Regions from separate parts of the Homo sapiens genome. Here regions 1, 3 and 4 are each linked to region 2. The links are contacts of gene promoters, found by promoter capture Hi-C in human tissues and cell types (Jung and others, 2019). All regions are on one chromosome and are shown on one strand. Each heading gives the region's core, a stretch centred on a gene start or on the middle of the fragment in contact. The rest is flanking DNA. Distances are from core to core; before and after follow the strand shown. Region 1 has its middle 110 kb from the start of TRIM24. Region 2 holds the start of TMEM213 (transmembrane protein 213). Region 3 has its middle 4.7 kb from the start of TRIM24. Region 4 overlaps TRIM24 (tripartite motif containing 24).

Region 1 (5,540 bases), core at 1,644-4,143, 450 kb after region 2:
GCTCAGGAGTTCAAGACAACCCTGGGCAACATAGTGAGATACCCATCTCTACAAAAAAATACAAAAAAATTAGCTGGGCGTGGTGGCAAGTGCCTGTAGTCCAAACTACTTGGGAGGCTGAGGTGGGAGCATCATTGCACCTGGGAGGTGGAGGTTGCAGTGAGCTATGATCTTGCCACTGTACTCCAGCCTGGGTGATTGTGTCTCAAAGAAAAACTAAAAAGCTAATGCTACCTGTTTTAGGTTTTGGATACAAAGGCACTTCGTTTTTAGGTAACAAAGTTTGTTCTTTGTTATTTTTTGTGTGTAACAATTGAGGACTGCAAGAACTGGCTCACACCTATACTCTTAGCAGTTTGGGAGGCTGAGGTGGGAGGATTGCTTGTTCAGGAGTTCCTGGGAAACATAGCAAGACCCCATCTCTATTAAAAATAAAATAAAAAATAAAAATTAGCCAGGCATGGTGGTGCATGCTTGTAGTTCTAGCTACTTGAGAGGCTGAGATGAGAGGATCACTTGAGCCTAGAATGAGGCTACAGTGAGCCATGGTCATGCCACTGCAATCCAGCCTAAGTGACAGAGCGAGATGCTGCCTCATAATATAAAATAAAATAAAATAAATAAAGCAAAATAGAGCTGTGAAAAAGTCTCCAGAAGAAGAAACACACAATTCAACCTCCACACTAAGAGAGTTAACTAATCTCCAGTAGGGCTTCTAGTGGCCAAAGGCCATGCCCCGGGATAACCCAGCCCCCCTTACATTTCTGCCTGTAAAAACTTAAGGTTGCCAAAAGAATTTACTGTTAGTTGCAGCCAAAACCTGATGATAGACCCCTGACCTCCTTTGTCTTGGACCATTTACCTTTGAAATCTTGCAATTGTAAATCCTTTCTCTGTCTTTTTGAGGTGTATATCTATTTTCTTCAACTGTGGAATATGTTTTTCAAGGACCTGGGAGCCATCCCTTTGAAATATCATTAGGAAAGATAAGGCCCCTGTCTTCCAGTCTCTGTGGAAGCGTAGGAGCCTAACTTTGATAAACACCAGTTGGTGGACAGAGATGGCCTGATCATGTCCCTTAAGGCCCTTCAGTACTTTTCCTTTAGGACACACCTGGTTTGTGTGGGTGAGGGGGAGGGCTTTGCTGCAAGAGGGCTTGCCTGGGTGGGTCTGGCTTGGGATCCTTCCTGAGGTTGCTGTCAGAGAATGGCTGGGGCTGCAACAGCATGGGGCTAGAGCCGCTGGGGCCGGCCCTCCACTCTCTCACTATCTGGCCTCTCCAGGTCTCACCATGCGACTGGGTTGGGCTAGTCCGGGCCTCAGGGTAGTTGCACTACTTATCTAGCAGTTGCAGATTTCAACAGTGAGTATTCTAGTGAGCAGGGCGGAAGCTGCAATGCCTCGTCTGATCTAACCTTGAAAGGCAATGAGTCACAAGTCAGCCTGGAGTAAAGGGGAGGAAAGTAGACCCCATTTCATCATAGGAAGAATGTGAAGGCCACATTGCAGATGAGTACAAAGGATGGGAGATAACGCTGTGACCATCTTTGAGGAATGCCGCTGGCCACAATCATCTACTTGGCCAGCATTCAGATTTAATATGTTATATATTGTCTTTTATAGCCATAAATATTAATACTTCTTTGCCCCTCCATTTTCTTTTGGAATATTAGGCTCTCTCCCTTATTTGTGGGAGTTTACAACATTTTAGGCATTTGTCCAGGGCCTATAAAGCTGGGAGAAATAGGCTGGGTGTGGTGGCTCATGTCTGTAATCCCAGCACTTTGGGAGGCCGAGGTGGGCAGATCACCTGAGGTTAGGAGTTGGAGACCAGCCTGGCCAATATGGTGAAACCCATCTCTACTAAAAAATACAAAAATTAGCCAGGTGTGGTGACGGGCGCCTGTAGTCCCAGCTACTTGGGAGGCTGAGGCAGGAGAATCACTTGAACCCGGGAGGCAGAGGTTGCAGTGAGCCGAGATCGAGCCACTGCACTCCAGCCTGGGCGACAGAGCGAGACTCCATCTCAAAAAAAAAAAAAAAGCTGGGAGAAATAGAGAAATAGGCTATCTATATACACTGATAGAAATCTGTGTCTTTGAGACCTTTCTGACTGAATTCATGCTCTGGGCCACTATGACTGCCAAATTATCTTCATTATTAGATCTAGCATTTAAGCCCAGGGACTTCATATGACTCTTAGCAGTGAATAAAACCAAACAACAATGACAAAAAAAAAAAAAAAAATTCCAGGGACACCAGCCCCTTGAGATTTTTATATTTGCCATTTTAAAAATAATGCCATTAAAAAATAAATTGTTAATAAGATATGAAAATTAAGAACATTAATTTTTCTCTCTTTGAAAATAATTACATAGAGATTAAATTAAGAAAGAGAAGATGGCCGGGTGCAGTGGCCCACGCCTGTAATCTTAGCACTTTGGGAGCCTGAAGCAGGTGGATCACTTGAGGCCAGGAGTTTGAGACCAGCCTGGCCACCTTGGTGAAACCCCATCTTTACTAAAAATAGAAAAATTAGCTGGGTGTTGTGGTGCACACCCATAGCCCCAGCTACTTGGGAGGCTGAGGCAGAAGAATCACTTGAACCCAGGAGGTGGAGGTTGCGGAGAGCCAAGATCATGCCACTGTACTCCAGCCTGGGCAACACAGCGAGACTCTGTTTCAAAAAAATAAAAATTTAAAAATTTAAAAATAACATAAAAAGGAGAAGGTGAAATTAGTAGTGTCAAGTTTGAATTTTGAAAACTCTAATTAAGAATCTCAATAATTTCTTGATAACAGACAATATTCACCCCATAAGTCTATTTAGAGAAACACAATCATGCAAAGGTAGGGTTGTTTTCAAAGATTTTAAAATTCACACCCTCTCCCACTTTTAATTATTCACAGAGTATCAGTAAGAGAGACAAAGAGATCTACCTCCACCCAGGTAAAATCCCAAATCTGAGTCTAAGAGACTTTTGGAGACTCCTAAGTCTTATAGGATTGGCAGATTTGTTTGCCTGTGTATAGCAATAAACCAATACACTGAGACAGTGGGGTTTGCAGCAGAGAAGGAGCTTAGTAATCCCAAGGCCACTGAGTGAGGAGAAAGATGGAATCCTCAAGTCTCAAATCCATCTCTCCAAGGAGTTCTGGGGAAAGGTTTTTAAGTGGATCATGGATGATGAGGGGCTGGAAAATTGGGGTCATTGATTGGTCAGGGTAAGGAGGATGAGATCATTAGGTAGAAACTGCAATCTTCCATGAGTCAGCTCCTTGCTGGGTCCTTCAGAACAGCTGACGTCAGTAGTTTTATCAGTGAGCAGAACCTAAAAGAGAAATTGAAATGGAAAGCTTACTTCACAATGTCTTAGATTTTATCTATAGAACAGAAAATGAACAGAGTCTTGTGACAAGGGCTACGTTATCCTGGGGCAGTAAGCAGCAACAAGCTACAAGGAAGTGGGCAAAAGGGCAAGCTGGCTGAATGATTACTGCTGATTATGCTGCAAGCCTAGTTGAATTTTATTTTTTTTCCCTTAATCAGTTTTATAAAATTTCCTTGGCGATGGTTTCATAGCAGATGAGTATAGCTGGAAGAGTGTTGCCCAGGCTGGAGTGCAGTGGCACGATCTCAGCTCACTGCAACCTCCACCCCCCAGGTTCAAGCCATTTTCCTGCCTCTGCCTTCCGAGTAGCTTGGATTACAGGTGTGAGCCACTGTGCCCAGCTAATTTTTGTATTTTTAGTTAAGATGGGGTTTCACCATGTTGGCCAGGCTGGTCTTGAACTCCTGACCTCAGGTGATGCAACTGCCTCGGCCTCTCTAAGTGCTGGGATTATAAGCCTGTGCCACTGCTCCTGGGCTTGGAAAAGTGTTCTTATGGAATCCTCAGGAAAATCAGTCTGTGAAGCAGTTCCATTTGATCAGAATCAGAATATGGGATGCTTGAGGGTTTTTTTTTCAATCTCCTTGAGTGTGTTTTATGTGTACTGCAATGAATGAAAGCCTAGACTGTCTATTGCAGCTATTGGATGTTCACGTCGATGGAGGTCCTGTCTTTCCCCATCTCCAATCCATCTGTGCAATTCTCTGGACAGAGAGGGTACACTTGACAGAGGGTTTTCACTTGGCACTGTACTCATGTTCTCTTTTGGCACATTTTCAGTCCTACTAGACTTAGGCTTATATTTTTTGGCAAGTGTGTTTTTCTCTAATCATTTTAGTGTTGTCTGTCACAGAGCTGAATTTGTACCATATATAATCTCTATATTTTGACTGACACAGTTTTCTACTCTAATTTTTACACATAACATCCATATGCATAAATAGTCTCTGTACAGTATTTCTGAGAGTATTTCTCAGAGGAAGCGTCACTGTTGAATATTGAAGGTAAAAGCTTCTGAGGCCTTGAGAGAATGAATAAAGTTCCTGAAATAATTTTCTACTACAATTCTCTTAACTCCATCTACAAATATAACTATTGTCAACACTTGGCTCTGTATTTTTCCAGTCATTTATTTCTCAGAAAATATAGACAATTTTTTTTTTTAGATAATTGAGGTTATATTGAATATACTACTTTGTAAGTATCTCTTTCCTATGTTATTACATATGTTTTTATTTTTTTCTCTTAAGAAACTCACGGTTAAGTTCTTTTTTTGTCAATAGCTTATTTATGTCATTTGCCTATGTAAAAATTTTAAAAATGAATTATTGTTGAGTTGCTTTTGCTATTTTTCATTTGACATACTGTTTTCCTAATCTTTTTTGTTGTTGTTGTTGTTCTTTTGAGAAGGAGTTTCACTCTTGTTGCCCAGGCTGGAGTGCAATGGCGTGATCTCAGCTCACTACAACTTCCACCTCCCAAGTTCAAGTGATTCTCCTGTCTCAGCCTCCTGAGTAGCTGGGATTACAGGCATGTGCCACCACACCCGGCTAAGTTTGTATTTTTAGTAGAAACAGGGTTTCCCCATGTTGGCCAGGCTGGTCTTGAACTCCTGACCTCAGGTGATCCACCCGCCTCGACCTCCCAAAGTGCTGGGATTACAGGCGCCAGCCACCAGGCCTGATGCTGTTTTCCTAATCTGTTTAGATTGTTTGTATCCATCAGATTTGCTGTATAACAAATTATCCAAAAACTTAGTGGCTTAAAATAAGGAATATTTGTTATTTCTCAGGACTCTGTGGGTTTGGCTGGGAGGATTTCTGGTCTGGACTGGTTTGGCAGATCTTTAAGGTCAGCTGGCAGATCTCTAAGGTCAGCTTGCAGCTCAGCTGGGGCCATGGTCTAGGGTTGGCTGCACACAAAAGTGAAGGCAGGGGCCAGGCGCAGTGGCTCACGCCTGTAATCCCAGCACTTTGGGAGGCCAAAGCAGGCGGATCACCTGAGGTCAGGAGTTGGAGACCAGCACCGGGTGGATTCAGCTATTTCTAACTTAGCATTTCTCAACATGTATTCAGGACAACATTAAGTATATAACAATTTATGCTGCTTGTAATAAAAGTCAATATATTTTGAAAAGTTGTATGAAAC
Region 2 (5,310 bases), core at 508-3,007:
TGGTCTTTATTTGTTTTGGAGAAACTGATTCCTCACTATTCTAATTTTCCTTATGACTCAAATAACTTCCTTGGCCCTGACTTTCATTTCACCTCTACACCTAGAATGGAAGTTGTCCTCTTCCAAAGTGAGTGGAAAAAAACCCTAGTTGGCTGAATGCTAGGGTTAGGTTCGAGCTTATGAAATTGCCATTGTTATAGGTGAAAATTGTTCAATATCAGCAATTTTCTGTGGTTCAAATGGAATAGCCCCGGTGAAAATTCCTAAGAATTTAAACATCGCCCTCCTCCCTTATAAGCAGAGCCAGAAGCGAGGGAGGGACTGGCCCTACTTGGGGCTATTCCACAAGAAAAGCTGCTGGGAAGACCCAACGATTCAGTGCAGTTAAACTTGTCTTCTGATTCTGAGCTCCCATCATAAGCAAGGCACTGTCGGGGTAAGTAGAAAGAAACTCAGCACTCTTATTTGGGGAGGGGTGAAGTTGGAAAATAAAATGAATGTGCTTACCATAATTGCTGACATTCACTGTGTGTGTTCTATGGGCTATTTCTAAGTTCTTTACATGAAATTACATCAATTCGTCTTGACAAGCACTATGATTGTCCCCATGAGATAAAGGAGGAAACTTGGCATAGAGAGGTAAAGTCATTTGCTCGAGGTCGCATAGCTAGTGAGTCATGGAAGCTGGACCTGGGTTCAGGCTCAGCGGCTCAAGAGTGCACGTCTTGAACCTCAACACCAACACCCCTGGCAGTGGCTACAGAAGAGAGTCTGAGGATGAGAGGGGCAGACACAGGACTTTGGGGGCAGGGTTGGTTTTGGGAGCAGGAGTGTTGCAGGGCATAGAGAGTGTGGTGGTGTTCTGAGGTGGCTGAGAACAAGATCAAAGCCAGGAGCAGAAGATGGTAACCAAGGTCCCTCTGCCGTGAGTTGCAGAACCCGGCCTGGCAGGGCAAGGCAGGGGATGTAGATCAGCCTTCCAGCCTCCACAGGAAAATGGGGAGATAACCCAGCATTTCCAGTGCCCGGGGAGGCAGGAGGGTGGGAGACAGTGAATGGCAGCCCTCCTGGCAGTCAGGTTTTGTGAAAGTCGCAGAGAAAGTACAAGGGGCAGGGAGGGATGGAGGACTTAGGAAAGGGAAGGTCAGACACAAATGTGCACAGGGAGGATTGCAAAGCACGACAGCCCAGTGGGGCTGAGAAGGAGCCTTCAGGACACAGCGGACCAAGAGATATCATTTTGGTCCCCTGATGGGTGAGACTCCAGCAAATAACTTTTTCCTTTCTTTGTGGCAAAGGCCAAGAGAGGTGGCTGCTCCTGCCTTAGCTGAGGAATTGAGTATCTGATCTCCGTCTCAGGCCAACCTAAGACCCCCCCTGCCCCAGCCCCACCTCCCACCCCCTGCCTAATCCTTCAGATGAGAAAGTTCTGTTTCCTCCTTCCTTTGCGCAGGACCAACCCTGGCCAAAGAATCTTCCCCCTCCTCCTTCTTTCCCTCCCACCTCTCTTCCCTCCTTCCCTCCCCCTTCCCAGCCTGGCCATGAATAAAGCTCATAACGCTACCTGCCGAGCAAGCCGAGTGGAGGGAGGCAAAGGCCAGGCTGAGGATCAGGGTGGCCCGGGTGGCAGCGGGGAGGCGCTGCATGCTGGAGGCTGTGCTGAGTGCCCGGTGCAGGTGAGCCGGTCCTGCGGAGTTGTGCCGAGTGCCTGCTGCAGGTGAGTCGACTCCCACCTGCAGGAGCTGGAAAGCAACTCTGCCAGAGGTGAACTTATGCTGGGTGTTTGGGGGAAACACCATGGGGTGGAGCAAAGGAAACTTGGCCTGTCACACCTTCTCTCACCTCTCTAGAAGGGAAGCCAAACCGTTGGCTGAGGAAGGAAGGGAGGGGCAAGCTGTGCCCTTCTCCCCTGAGCGCAAATATTGTCCTTATTGAGAAACAAGGGGAGGACAAGAGAGATCTGTGTCATGCTGGTTCCTGGGACATGAGTTTGCTGCCTCTCCCATCTGCAGGTGTAGCATGGATGCTCAATTCCATTTGGGCCAATATTCACTGAGCACCCACTATGCTGAAGTTGGGAGATACCTGCTGTCGAAGTGCGTTAATTACAAACACGCATCATTCAACCCCAGAACCGTGTTTGAGGAATGGCTTGGGAGGATAAAGCACTGTGGGTTTCAACAGTGGAGGCCACATCTGCTGATGGGATGCTTCAAGAAGAAAATGGCATTTGAGGTTGGGCATGGGGGCTCACCCTGTAGTCCCAGCACTCTGGGAGGCTGAGGCAGGTGGATCACTTGAAGTCAGGAGTTCAAGACCAGCCTGGCCAAAATGGTGAAACCCCATCTCTAATAAAAATACAAAAATTAGCCAGGTGTGGTGGTGCATGCCTGTAGTCCCAGCCACTTGGGAAGCTGAGGCAGGAAAATCGCTTGAACCCGGAAGACAGAGGTTGCAGTAAGCTGAGATGCTCCTGACCCTGCATTCCAGCTTGGCCGACAGAGGGAGACTCCATCTCCAAAAAAAAAAAAAAAAAAAAAAAGAAAATGGCATTTGGCCTGGGCCTTGAAGGATGGCTAGAATTTTGACAGGGGGAGAGGGGAAGATGGCATTATAGGTAGAGGGACAGATGAGCAAAGGTCCAGAGGTAAGGAAGTGTCAGAGGGTGGCTGTACCAGCAGCACCCAGAAGCGCAGGTGAGCCAAGGCATGTGAGGTGGGGAGGCAAGAGGAGAGCTGTGGGCTAAGCTTCTGCGTGCCTGGTAGAGGAATTTGAAACAAAGTCAGGAAGCAAAGGGGAAGGTTCTGTAGAGATTTTGAGCTGAGGAGTAACTTGACTAGAGCTCTGCATTCCGTCTAAAACATTTATTGAAGACCCACATGTATATAAAAGGTCTCATCCTAGGCACTGGAGACTGAGATGACTGAGACACGCCTCTTCCCCTTGAGAGCACAGTGCAGCAGGGAACCAAACCCGGAAGAAAGAAATTTGATGCAACCTGGCAAGACTCAAATAGGGGTACCTTCCACTGTGATGGGAATAAAAAGGAGGATGGGATGAACTCTGCCTGAGAGGTATAGGGGAAGGATTCACAGAGAAAGTGACATTTGGGCTGGGTGCTGAAGTTTGTATGTGCAGATTAGAGTTGATGGGCTTTTCAAGTCAAAGGAATAGCACCTATAAAGGCGAGGGAATCGTCTGTGTGCACACAGCCTGCCATGTGTGGAAGTGTTCCTGCGCATGAATGGGCCTGGTAAGGGTGAGGGGTGGACTCCAGCTCTGTGGAAAGACATAGAAGGCGTGAGTAAGCCCCAAGGAAAGATTTCCTAGTGGAGTGTAACAGCCCAGGGGAGGCACTTTTTTCTAATTGGCTCTAAGATATAAAATAGTGGTGGCCTATGTTCCTGGATTTGGGGATAGGGCCAACGTGCCCTAGGAAGGGTGATTTTCAGTCAGTGCACAGAAGTCCAGTTTAGGCATTACCACTAGTTGAACATTAAACAGTTGCATGCCAGGCCAGGCTCTCGGTGTGGGGACCTGGGGGTGAGAAAGACCACACAGCCCTTGTGCTCAAGGAACTCAAGGTCCCCACAGAGAGGACGCTGCTTAGTAGAACAAATGCTGTCCTCGATGTTTTCCTCACAAGTAAACCCTGCAGTGGGCTTCACAGGGCAGGACTGATTTATCCAATGGGTACTAGGGATAACAGCGGTACGTGGAATCCCCAAGATTTCCAAGGATCTCAAAAATGTTTGAGACCTGAGAAAATATTCTCAGATCCAAAATTTGAAGAACAGACCAGGCATATTGGCACACGCCTGTCATCCCAACACTTTGGGAGGCCGAGGTGGGAAGATCACTTGAGCCAGGGAGTTCAAGACCAGCCTGCACAACATAGTAAGACCCTGCCTCCGCAAAACAAACAAAAAAAAACACAAAAAAATTACTTGGGTATGGTAGTGTGCACCTGTAGTCTCAGCTACTCAGGAGGCTGAGGTGGGAGGATCACTTGAGCCCAGGAGGTTGAGGCTGCAGTGAGCTGAGATGGCACCACTGCACTCCAGCCTGGGTGACACAGTGAGACCCTGTCCCCAAACAAACAAACAAAAATTTGAACAATCAAAAACTGGGCAAAATAAATGATTGTTTCAAAAGCAAAGTTATACAGTTCACTTGAAATGTTTAAACGGAAACGATTTAATGTGGGACGCTGGGTGCATTTTAATGTGTTTGACGTGAGCAGAGCCTGTCCCTCCTATGGAATCGGAACCTGAGGTATGCAAACATGTAAGATGGCCTGCCTGGGGTTATTGTAGTGGTGGATTGAACAGCATCTGCAGCCTAAGCTGAGACCATCCTATCAAGTCGTATCAGGGAAAGCTTTTCTGGCAAGCAGTGGATGTGGAGGAGGGGGATAATGTGTTGGCCCTCCCTCCCTATTTTATCATTGTTATGTGATGTCGGACTGTTTTAGATGAGCTGTTTGTAGGACAAACATTCTCCTATCTACAGATGGAAGAACTTTGTTATTCGAAAATAGTATAGGCTGGGCCAGGCACGGTGGCTCAGGCCTGTAATCCCAGCACTTTGGGAAACTGAGGCAGGTGGCTCATTTGAGGTCAGGAGTTCGAGACCAGCCTGGCTAACATGGTGAAATCCCATCTCTACTAAAAAAATTCAGAAATATTAGCCAGGCGTGGTGGTGCATGCCTGTAATCCCGGCTACTTGGGAGGCTGAGGCAGGAGAATCACTTGAACTGGGGAGGTGGAGGTTATAGTGAACCGTGATTGTGCCACTGCACTCCAGCCTGGGCAACAGAGTGAGACTCTGTCTCAAAAAAAAAAAAAAAAAATAGGGTGGGCTGGACTGGCCAATGATAACTATTAACCCCAAAGAAAGGGCTGTGTGTGTGTGGCCACTTTTTACTTTACGAGTGTCACCAGTATTTGCTGTTTGTAGCAGGTCTACAACTAACAACTCCATGTGGCCCATTTCCTCACTCATACATTTTGCATCAGGTTTACTTTGGAGCGCATATCAGGAAGTTGCCTTACTCAAAGCTAGACTTTCTCAAGACTTTTTTTTTTTTTAAATGGGTGAGATAGGTATTTGGTTACACACACTATTTTAAAAGTTCAGGCTGAAATGTCTGTGGCTAGGCACCATGGTGGTGGTTGGAGAGAGGAGTAGCCAAGAGAGTGGGATTCCAGGGCTCTTACTGCTTCCAATTTCACCTGTTATCCCTGATAAGATTTCATGTGAAAAAGAAAAGAAGTAGGCAGAGAGTTTCCAGGGCTAAAAGATGGAAA
Region 3 (5,500 bases), core at 1,518-4,017, 340 kb after region 2:
TTTTTCAAATCACCATGGTTTTACAGAAAATGATCTTCCATCGTTTTAGCCTTCCTAATTTCACATGAGTAAAACAATCGTACATTGTACTTTGTTCACATATATGGAACTTCAAGTCCAGAAAATGAATTTACTGTTTGTTTTTCTTAATCATATGATTTCTTTATTTGGATATTGTTGCCCTACAAAGCGTGTTCAAATATATTTCACAAAGATCCACACTACCAATAGATTACTCTTCCTTAATTACAGCTCTCATCCTATGTCCCTCCCTTATCCCATAATTTTCTGTGGCTCTCCACTGCATCCAAAGCTCTCCACAATTTTATTCCCATCTGATCTTCTTGTCTGATGTTACTGCTTTCCCATATCCATCCTGTGCTTCCGCCTAATTGGATGATGCGCTGTTTCTTGTTTCTTAACTGCACCACTACCACCACCTATGAGAGAGGAGATCAAAGCTGTCTGAACTGGAAGAGAAGGGCATCAGCAAGGAGAATAAAAGCATCAGATGCTGGCCGGGCGCAGTGGCTCATGCCTGTAATCCCAGCACTTTGGGAGGCCAAGGCAGGCGGATCAGCTGAGGTCAGGAGTTCAAGACCAGCTTGACCAACATGGAGAAACCCTGTCTCTACTAAAAACATTAAATTAGCCCGGCATGGTGTTGCATGCCTGTAATCCCAGCTACTCGGGAGACTGAGGCAGGAGAACTGCTTGAACCTGGGAGGCAGAGGTTGCAGTGAGCCAAGATCGTGCCATTGCACTCCAGCCTGGGCAACAAGAGCTAAACTCCGTCTCAAAAAAAAAAAAAAGCATTAGATGCTAGTAAGATTTCTCATCCCACCCCTCAAAAGGTGCTAGTGGGTGGAAATTCTATAACTTCCAGGGACACTTAAGAAAATCATTTTTCGGCCAGGCACAGTGGCTTGCTTAGGCCTGTGATCCCAGCACTTTGGGAGGCCGAGGCGGGCGGATCACGAGGTCAGGAGATCGAGACCATCCTGGCTAACACAGTGAAACCCCGTCTCTAATAAAAATACAAAAAATTAGCCGGGCATGGTGGTGGGCGCCTGCAGTCCCAGCTACTCAGGAGGCTGAGGCAGGAGAATGGCGTGAACCCGGGAGATGGAGCTTGCAGTGAGCCGAGATCGCACCGCTGCACTCCAGCCTGGGTGACAGGCAAGACTCCGTCTCAAAAAAAAAAAAAGGAAAAGAAAATCATTTTTCGGGACTGGGTGCGGTGGCTCACGCCTGTAATCCCAGCACTTTGGAATGCCAAGGTGGGCAGATCACCTGAGGTCAGGAGTTCGAGACCAGCCTGACCAACATGGAGAAACCCCATCTCTACCAAAAATACAAAATTATCTGGGCTTGGTGGCACATGCCTGTAATCCCAGCTACTCAGGAGGCTGAGGCAAGATAATCACTTGAACCCAGGAGGTAGAGGTTGCGGTGACCTGAGATCGCGCCATTGCACTCCAGCCTGGGCAACAAGAGTGAAACTCCATCTCAAAAAAAAAAAAGAAAGAAAAAAGAAAATCATTTTTCAGTAGAACTCTGATTGTGAGGCGTGTTTAGACATACAGGGTCTGAACTAACCCCTTCACCCAATTTCTTATAGATTTAGAGGAAGAAGGAAAAGATTCTCAGACTTCCAGAAGTAGCTGAGAGGTCTGGATGACTTGAGTCAGGATAAGGAGAATGCAATGAGTAGGCACCAAAGGCCATCTCAGACTATCTCAGTGGGGTCCATGGGGAGGCCCACAGTCAAAAGCCAATGGAAACCAAGCACAAGGGTGCACTGCTGTAGTCCTCACTTCTCAGGAAGCTGAGGTGGGAGGATCACTTGAGACCAGGAGTCTCAGGCCACAGTGCACTATAACCATGCCTGTGAATAGTCACTGCACTCCAGCCTGGGCAACATAGCGAGATTCAGTCTCTAAAAAAACGAAAACAAAACCTGTATTGTTAACCGGGTAGGGTGACCCGTGCCTGCAATACCCCCTACTCAGGAGGCAGAGGAGGGATGATCACTTGATCTCAGGAGTTTGAGGTCTGCCTTGGCCACATAGCAAGACCCAGTTTCTTAAAAACAACAACAGAAAATATTTGCAGATGTTTTATTATGGGGGGGGGGCGGGAATGGAGGCAAGTCACACTCTACATATGCCACGGTAAACCAAGAATGCCTCCCAAAACCTAATGTGTTTCCCCACATATGCCATGGCCCTCTTAAACCCTTGGACCTTCAAATCAGCGATAGATAAAAGGGAGAATGAATATGGTAGTGATTGAGTTTAGAACTTAAATGACCAAAACCACAACAAACAAAAGCAAATTATCTCAAATATGACTACATCAAATTTTCTACCATCAGGAAGATTAAAAATTTAGATAATTTTTAAAAAATTTTGTAGTCAACATAACACACTTCTTGGATGTGCAATAAAGGGTTAACTTAGCAAGCTTAGGTTACTCAAATGGTGCACATTCCAAAGAGAGGATTGACCCTTGACTCGCTCCTGGGGGGTTACTGCTGCCCTTTTGGAATATCCTGCCTGATAAGAGGAGAGCTTGAGAGTTTGGGCCATACTGTATTAATTTGACCAGAGAGTTTATGCTCGGGATGTGACCTATGGCTCACACCTGTTTTATATACGTGAGGCCCTTGGCCACTATATGTCAGTTTGATCTCTGGGAAGCTGGAAAGTGAGTAGCCAAGACCAGTCACATAGGTGCTGCATGCCTACAGGATCTCCAATAAAAAACCTGGAATCCAAGGCTTGGGTGCATTTCCCTGGTTGGCAAGACTTCATATGTCTTGTTACACATTATTGCTGGGAGAATGAAGCACTGTCTGTGGGGCTGTGCCGGAGGGAGCAACTGGAAGCTCGCTCCTGGCTTCTCCTGGACTTGGTCTATGCACCTTTTCCCTTTTGCTAATTCTAACATGTATCCTTTTTCTTTTTCTTTTTGAGACAGAGTCTTGCTCTGTTGCCCAGGCTTTAGTGCAGTGGCGCGATCTTGGCTCGCTGCAACCTCCCCCTCCCGAGTTCAAGCAATACTCCTGCCTCAGCCTCCAGAATAGCCGGGGCTACAGGCATGCACCACCACACCCGGCTAATTTTTGTATTTTTAATGGAGACAGGTTTTCTGCCATGTTGGCCAGGCTGGTCCTGAACTCCTGGCCTCAAGTGATTCACCTGCCTCGGCCTCCCAAAGTGCTGGGATTATAGGCATGAGCCACCGTGCCTGGCTTCAGGTACAGTTTATTACAGCAAAAGGATATAGATTAGGCCTGGCGCAGTGGTTCACGCCTGTAATCCCAGCACTTTGGGAGGCCAAAGAGGATGGATTACCTGAAGTCAGGAGTTCAAGACCAGCTTGGCCAAAATGGTAGAAACCTCATTTCTACTGAAAATACAAAAATTAGCCAGGTGTGGTGGCAGGCGCCTGTAATCACAGCAACTCAGGAGGCTGAGGCAGGAGTATCACTTGAACCCAGAAGGTGGGGGTTGCAGTAAGCTGAGACCTCGCCATTGCACTCCAGCCTGGGTGACGAGCAAAACTCCATCTCAAAAACAACAACAACAACAACAACAACAACAAACTGTACCTGAGAGTATAGCAACTTTTCCTGAATCTTTTGAGTCCTTTTAGCAAATTGTGGAAACTAAGGATGATCCTGGGAACCCCCTACATAAAGGACATGTAGTTTCTCCTACTAGATTGTAATTCATTTAGACTAAGAATCATTTATGCTCCTATTTCTTTTTTTTTCTTTTGAGACAGAGTCCCGCTCTGTCGCCCAGGATGGAGTGTAGTGGCACTGTCTCTGCTCACTGCAAGCTCTGCCTCCCAGGTTCACGCTATTCTCCTGCCTCAGCCTCCCGAGTAGCTGGGACTACAGGCGCCTGCCACCGCACCCGGCTAATTTTTTGTATTTTTTTTTTTTTTTAGTAGGGATGGGGTTTCACTGTGTTAGCCAGGATGGTCTCGATCTCCTGACCTCGTGATCCACTTGCCTCGGCCTCCCAAAGTGCTGGGATTACAGGCGTGAGCCACCGCACCGGGCCTATTTCTTTAATATCTCAGAAATATCATGGAGACCAAACATCTATAACTTTCTTCCTCATGCTTTGGTCCTCTCACCCTCTGTGGTATTCTCAGTATTTGCCTCAATTATATCTCCTTTCCTCAAGTATTTAGCTTTTTTGAATCTTCTACTGAAATGGAAGAGCCAGGTGCAGTGGCTCACACCTGTAATCCCAAAACTTTGGGAGGCTGAGGCAGGCAGATCATTTGAGGTCAGGAATTCAAGACCAGGCTGGCCAATATGATGAAACCCGATCTCTACTAAAAATACAAAAATTAGTTGGGCGTGGTGGTGGGTGCCTGTAATCCCAGCTACTCGGGAGGCTGAGGCACGAGAATCGCTTGAACCTGGGAGGTGGAGATTGCAGTGAGCCGAGATCGTGCCATTGCGCTCCAATTTGGGAGACAGAGCAAGACTCTGTCTCAAAAAAAAAAAAAAAAGAGAGAGAGAGAGATGGAAGGCTCAGGACAGATAATTATAGGAGATATTTCTTTCCCTCACTGCTTCCCCTCCCCAGTCTTCCCCTCCCCAGGTAAATAATGTCTTCTGAACATTTAGTGTGGAGGAAAAGAGCCAGGGAGTGGCAGTGGGGGGTGGGGGTGGGAGTGGAGGTAGGGCAAGAGAGGGGCATAGCTATTCCCCTCTCTGAAGAACAGAAGTAATGGAGTGGTAAGCTGTAACTGAATATTGACTAATGGGATTCTGGTCAACTTACCGACTCTATGGATGGGCAATCACCAGAAGGGCTCGGGCTAGACTCAAGCAGCACTGTTCTGGGAATATCGGGGCAGAGTGAATCCCTACATGTTAATGTTCTGCCTTTTCTGTGGAAGCACTTTTTACCAGGTTTTATTATGAGGGTAGGGATTGCAGAGAGGAAAAAGAGGAAAAAGGCAATGGAAAACTCAATAAAGAGTAAGCCAATAAGAGGATCAAGAGAAGGAAAAGAGGGTGAGAATGAGGAAGACAATGAGAACAAATGAAGGAAAACAAATGGAGTAAAATAATGGTTGCAGATAACATAAGAAGAAATGAAAAAGAAAAACAGAGCAACTAGGAGCTGGAAAATGAGGACATGCATCACACTCTATGAGGGGCAAATAGTGAAGAGAGCCAGGAAGTGAGTTGGATGAGTGGACCAAAGTGGGAGATTGAAAGGACTCAATGAAAATGATGACATGGTTTATTCACAGGAAATAATTTGTAAGCCAAGTATCCTAGCACAACACAACAAAAAATGCAGCAATAGCAGAAGCAATTTCTCCTTTTAAAGAAATATTTTCCTTGGAGGTAGAATTCATTGTATGCATTTGTACTTTTGAAAGTGACATTCTTGGCCAGGCGAGGTGGCTCACGCCTGTAATCCCAGCACTTTGGGAGGCCAAGGCGGGTGGATCATCTGAG
Region 4 (5,211 bases), core at 1,096-3,595, 310 kb after region 2:
GAATCTACAAAGAATGTAAATTTACAAGAAAAAAATCAAACAACCCCATCAAAAAGTGGGCAAAGAATATGAACAGACACTTTTCAAAAGAAAACATGTATGCAGCCAACGGACACATGAAAAATGCTCATCATCACTGGTCATCAGAGAAATACAAATCAAAACCACAATGAGATACCATCTCACACCAGTTAGAATGGCGATCATTAAAAAGTCAGGAAACAACAGGTGCTGGAGAGGATGTGGAGAAATAGGAACACTTTTACACTGTTGGTGGGAGTGTAAACTGGTTTAACCATTGTGGAAGACAGTGTGGCGATTCCTCAAGGATCTAGAACTAGAAATACCATTTGACCCAGTGATCCCATTACTGGGTATATACCCAAAGGATTATAAATCATGCTACTATAAAGACATGCACATGTATGTTTATTGTGGCACTACTGACAACAGGAGAGACTTGGAACCAACCCAAATGTCCATCAGTGATAGACTGGATTAAGAAAATGTGGCGCATATACACCATGGAATACTATGCAGCCATAAAAAAGGATGAGTTCATGTCCTTTGTAGGGACATGGATGAAGCTGGAAACCATCATTCTGAGCAAACAGAAAACCAAATGCTGCATGTTCTCACTCATAGGTGGGAACTGAACAATGAGAACACTTGGACACAGGGCAGAGAACATCACACACCAGGGACTGTCATGGGGTGAGGGGATGGGGGAGGCACAGCATTAAGAGAAATACCTAATGTAAATGATGAGTTAATGGGTGCAGCAAACCAACATGGCACATGCATATATATGTAACAAACCTGCACATTGTGCACATGTACCCTAGAACTTAAAGTATAATTAAAAAAAAAAAAAGTTCTTCTCAGGATGATGAAAAAGTTCTGGAAATAGCAGTGAAAGTTACAGAACACTATGAATGTACTTAATGCCACAGAATTATATACTTGAATATGATTAAAGTAGTAAATTTTATGTTATGTATATTTTACTACTGTAAAAAAAAGTACTCAAAACATTGACAAGGCATAGTAAAATATTCCCAAATAAAAGGAAATTAATAAAATGAAACAGAACGATTAATGTATTTTTTCAAAGAAACCAATAAAATTGAAAATCCATATTGAGGAAAGAGAAAGAAATAGGGAAGGCCTATAAAATCAGCACTGGGAATGAAAAAGAAAATTCATAACGTTAGATGACACAGAGAAAGAATTACCAAGAGGTTATTATCAACTACCTATATCAATAAAATTGAAAATTTATATAAAATGTATAAATTCCTAGAAAAAAAGAAACTGTCTACCATAGTATCTCAAGTAGAATAGAGTCCTATAGATAAACCTTTACGAAAACTGAATCCAGAGTTAAAATCTTCCCACAAAGAAAGGCCCAGTCCCTGACTGCTACCATATATTCAAGAAATACTTTAATTCCAAACTTACACAGGGATTGTAAGTATCATGAAATTCCTTCAGGGAAATTAAATCAGTAGCACTCTGTAATTCATTTTATGAAGTTCGCCTAACTCTACAAAAAAATTCATAAGGGCAGTATTACAAAGAAAAACCACAGGCCAAGGTAATTCATAAACATAAAAGTAATAAACAAAGTATTAGCAAACCAAATCCTACAGCATGTGAAAAGAATAATATGCCATCACAAAGTAGACTTCTGCCTAGGAAAGTTTATTTTACTATTAGAAAATCAATTCTTAGAACTCACCACCTAACAGATTAAAGGAACAATTATGCTTTCACTAGATACATAAGAAAAAGTATATTAAAAAAAAAAAAATCTAAGGCCAGGCGTGGTGGCTCATGCCTATAATCCCAGTACTTTGGGAGGCCTAGGTGGGTGGATCACCTGAGGGTAAGAGTTCCAGACCAGTCTGACCAACATGGTGAAACACCATCTCTACTAAAAATACAAAATTAGCCAGGCATGGTGGCACATGCCTGTAATCCCAGCTACTCAGGAGGTTGAGGCAGGAGAATAACTTGAACCCGGGAGGCGGAGGTTGAGGTGAGACAAGATCGCGCCATTGCACTCCAGCCTGGGCAACAAGAGCGAAACTCCGTCTCAAAAAAAAAAAAAATCTATTTATGATCAAAAAGATACACTCACAGACACACATGCCTCTGTGAATATTAGAAAATAAATGGGGAGGTATATGGCCTAGAATTGAGGTTCAATATTATGTACTGCCTTGATTCTGGTAAAACCGGGAGGACTTTGAACAGCCTAACCACAAGTTCTCCTCCCCACTCTACTTCCACAGAGAGGGTCCCTTAACCAAATACTCTTTATCAAAGCGACCAGGCACAATTTCTGCTTATGCTTAAATATTGAGTTTCAGTTCCTTGCCAACCTATATAATTATTCAAACAAGCCAATCTCATCCTCCTGTGGGAACCAGGGGCACCCCACTTTCATGATACTACATAAAAAGGCTACCTCCCACAGTCCCTGTTTGTTTACTCCGTCCCAAGTGCAACCATCATGTGGCCCTGCCTGGCAATGTAGTGTCCTCCCCAGGGCTATACAAGTCTATGTGACTAATAAACTGTTGTCAATTTCATCTGCCCAGTGTCAGTTGTTATGTATTGGGCCAACCTCATAATCCTATGGCAGGAATCCCTCCCTCACCAATGGGAATATCTATATGCTTATAAAAGATCTATATAAAATCCTACAGCAAACTTCCTATTTAATGGTGTAATGTTGAAGCTTCCTTTCTGAGATCAGGAACAAGATAAATTTCCACTGGCTTGACTTTTATTCAACAATGGAGAATTTAGGCAGCATGATAAAGCAAGAAAAAGAAAAGGCATAAAGATTGGAAATAATAAACACTGTCATTATTCACAGATGATATGATTAGATACAAGAGAAGCCAAACAAAGCTACAGAGAACTTACTAGAATTAGAAAGATTTAACAAAGTTATTGAAAAAAAAATTTTTTAACATTTGGGTCCAGGCACAGTGGCTAATGCCTAGGATCCCAGCACTTTGGGAGGCCAAGGCCAGAGGAGTGTAGGCATTTGAGGCCAGAGGAGTGTAGGGATTTGACACCAGCCTGGGCAACAAAGTGAGACCCCCCCCGCTACAAAAATGAGGAAAAATTAGCTGAGCATGGTGGTACATGCCTGTAGTCCCAGCTACTCGAGAGGATGAGGTGGGAAGATGACTTGAGCCCAGGAGGCTGAGGCTGCAGTGATCCCTGACTGTGCCACTGCACTCCAGCCTGGGTGACAGAAGGAGACTGTGGCTCAAAAAAACAAAAACAAATTAAGACATAAAACATATTTGGGCCAGGCACAGTGGCCAAAAGCTCTCAGCATTTTGAGAGGCCAAAGTGAGAGGATCACTTGAGTCCAGGAGTTCAAGACCCACCTGGGCAACATAGTGAGACACCATCACTACAAAAAATAATAAAAAGGAAAAAAAACCCCACACATTTGTATTTATATTTACCAGGAACAAAAAGGTAGAATGAAGTTAAAATGGAATATCATTTACAGTAGCATCATAACCTATCAAGTACCTAGAAAAACTTTAAGAGAAGACTTGCAAAATCTCAATGGGAATAATTATACTTAACGAGTCGGTAAAGAAAGCATAAGATCCTTTTGTGGTTCATAAGCATGATGATCAGGTTTTCAGGCATATGTGTACGATGTGCCTCCTTCAAACTTTGTTAGGATGCTACCACGCTACCCATCTGACTTAAAGGAAAAAAATTAAGAAGCATAATAATATTCTCCCCAAAGTGATTTTTTTTATCAATTTCTCATAATCCCAATAGCCTATCATGTTTTTTTGTGAAACCTGACAGGTGGATTCTTATGTGATAATTCAAATAGCTAAAAAACAATTAGAAGATGCTTCTGAAAAATAATTACAGGTATTGGTAAGGGGTTACATAAGGACTTGCTTTGCCAGCTGTCAAAAACTACTGTAAAGAGAATGTGGGCCAAGCAGTGGTTCATGCCTGTAATCCCAAGACCAAGACAGGAGGACAATTTGAGGTCAGGAGTACGAGACCAAATTGGGCAACATAGCAAGACCCTTTTTTCTAAAAGGAAAAAAAAGTGTGGCCCTGGTGCAGGTAGTAACAAATAGATCAACAGATTAAAACTGCCTGAGAAAGAGAAATCAGACGCTAAGGAAGAAACAGACTCACGCATACATAATTATAAGCACGGCGGTGTAGAGCACTGGGAAAAGAATGGTACTATTTTCCGCTAATGGGGCTTGGATAGCAGGTAGAAAGTGAAACTGGACTGCAACCTCACCATACACATAAATCAACTGCAGATGAAACGAAAACCCAAATGTGAAGGAAAAATTATAGAGCTTTTAAAATAAAATATTTTCTTTTTTCTTTTTTTTTGGAGACAGGGTCTTGCTCTGTTACTCAGGCTGGAGTGCTGTGGTATGATGAAGGCTCACTGCAGCCCTGGGTCCTCCTGGGTCCAAGCAATCTTCCCACATTAGCCTCTCAAGTAGTTGAGATCACAGGCTTGTGCCACCATGCCTGGCTCGTTTTGTTTGTTTGTTTGTTTGTATTGAGATAAGGTCTCCCTATGTTGCCCACACTAGTCTCAAACTCCTGGGCTCGAGTGATCCTCCCACAGTACTGGGATTACAGGTGTGAGCTACAGCGCCCAGCCCAGAAAGATTCTTAAAACGAGAGTACTTACCACAGAGATTCATAAAATTCAAAAATTCAAATTCAAAAAATAAAAGACCCTATAAAAAAGGCAAACAGAATGGAAGAAGATAGCGAGAATATAAAATAACTCCTATTAAAATTAAAATAGCCAGACACGGTGGCGCATACTTGTCATCCCAGATATTTGGGAGGCTGAGGCAGAAGGATTGCTTGAGCCCAGGAGTTTGAGACCAGCCTGGACAACACAACAAGATCAAGTCTCATAAAAAAAATAATAACTTGGGAGGCCAAGGCAGGTGAATCACTGAGCTCGGGAGTTTGAGACCAGCCCGACCAACATGGAGAAACCCCATCTCTACTAAAAATACAAAATTAGCCGGGCGTAGTGGCGCATGCCTGTAATCCCTACTACTCGGGAGGCTGAGGCAGGAGAATCGCTTGAACCTGGGGGTCAGAGGTTGCAGCAAGCTGAGATCACACCATTGCACTCCAGCCTGAGCAACAAGAGTGAAACTC

The links. The method cuts DNA at HindIII sites, captures the fragments that hold promoters and counts their contacts. A contact is called where the count stands out against the background at its distance.
Region 1: a contact is called between a fragment that was not itself captured here and the fragment with the promoter of TMEM213 in region 2, in 2 of the 25 tissues and cell types used here (dorsolateral prefrontal cortex and pancreas).
Region 3: a fragment that was not itself captured here is called in contact with the fragment with the promoter of TMEM213 in region 2 in 1 of the 25 tissues and cell types used here (bladder).
Region 4: a contact is called between a fragment that was not itself captured here and the fragment with the promoter of TMEM213 in region 2, in 1 of the 25 tissues and cell types used here (H1 embryonic stem cells).

What each region holds. Positions count from the first base shown.
Region 1 is chr7:138,348,617-138,354,156 of GRCh38, reverse strand. No RefSeq gene overlaps it. Among named protein-coding and RNA genes, the nearest start is that of TRIM24, 110 kb to the left of the region's middle. RefSeq lists a cis regulatory region at 702-1,665. The HindIII fragment of the contact is 6,739 bases long and covers 1-5,540 here.
Region 2 is chr7:138,794,441-138,799,750 of GRCh38, reverse strand. It overlaps TMEM213 (transmembrane protein 213), which reads right to left and starts at 1,757. Exons shown (of 3, transcript NM_001085429.2): 1 at 1,565-1,757. The coding sequence starts at 1,646. It overlaps ATP6V0A4 (ATPase H+ transporting V0 subunit a4), which reads left to right and starts at 1,555. Exons shown (of 22, transcript NM_020632.3): 1 at 1,555-1,717. RefSeq lists a silencer at 1,493-1,787. The HindIII fragment of the contact is 6,104 bases long and covers 1-3,564 here.
Region 3 is chr7:138,452,816-138,458,315 of GRCh38, reverse strand. No RefSeq gene overlaps it. Among named protein-coding and RNA genes, the nearest start is that of TRIM24, 4.7 kb to the left of the region's middle. The HindIII fragment of the contact is 3,645 bases long and covers 945-4,589 here.
Region 4 is chr7:138,481,016-138,486,226 of GRCh38, reverse strand. All of the region lies in intron 1 of TRIM24 (tripartite motif containing 24), which reads right to left. It overlaps LOC124901843 (small nucleolar RNA U13), which reads left to right and starts at 3,644; the gene lies at 3,644-3,747. The HindIII fragment of the contact is 3,434 bases long and covers 629-4,062 here.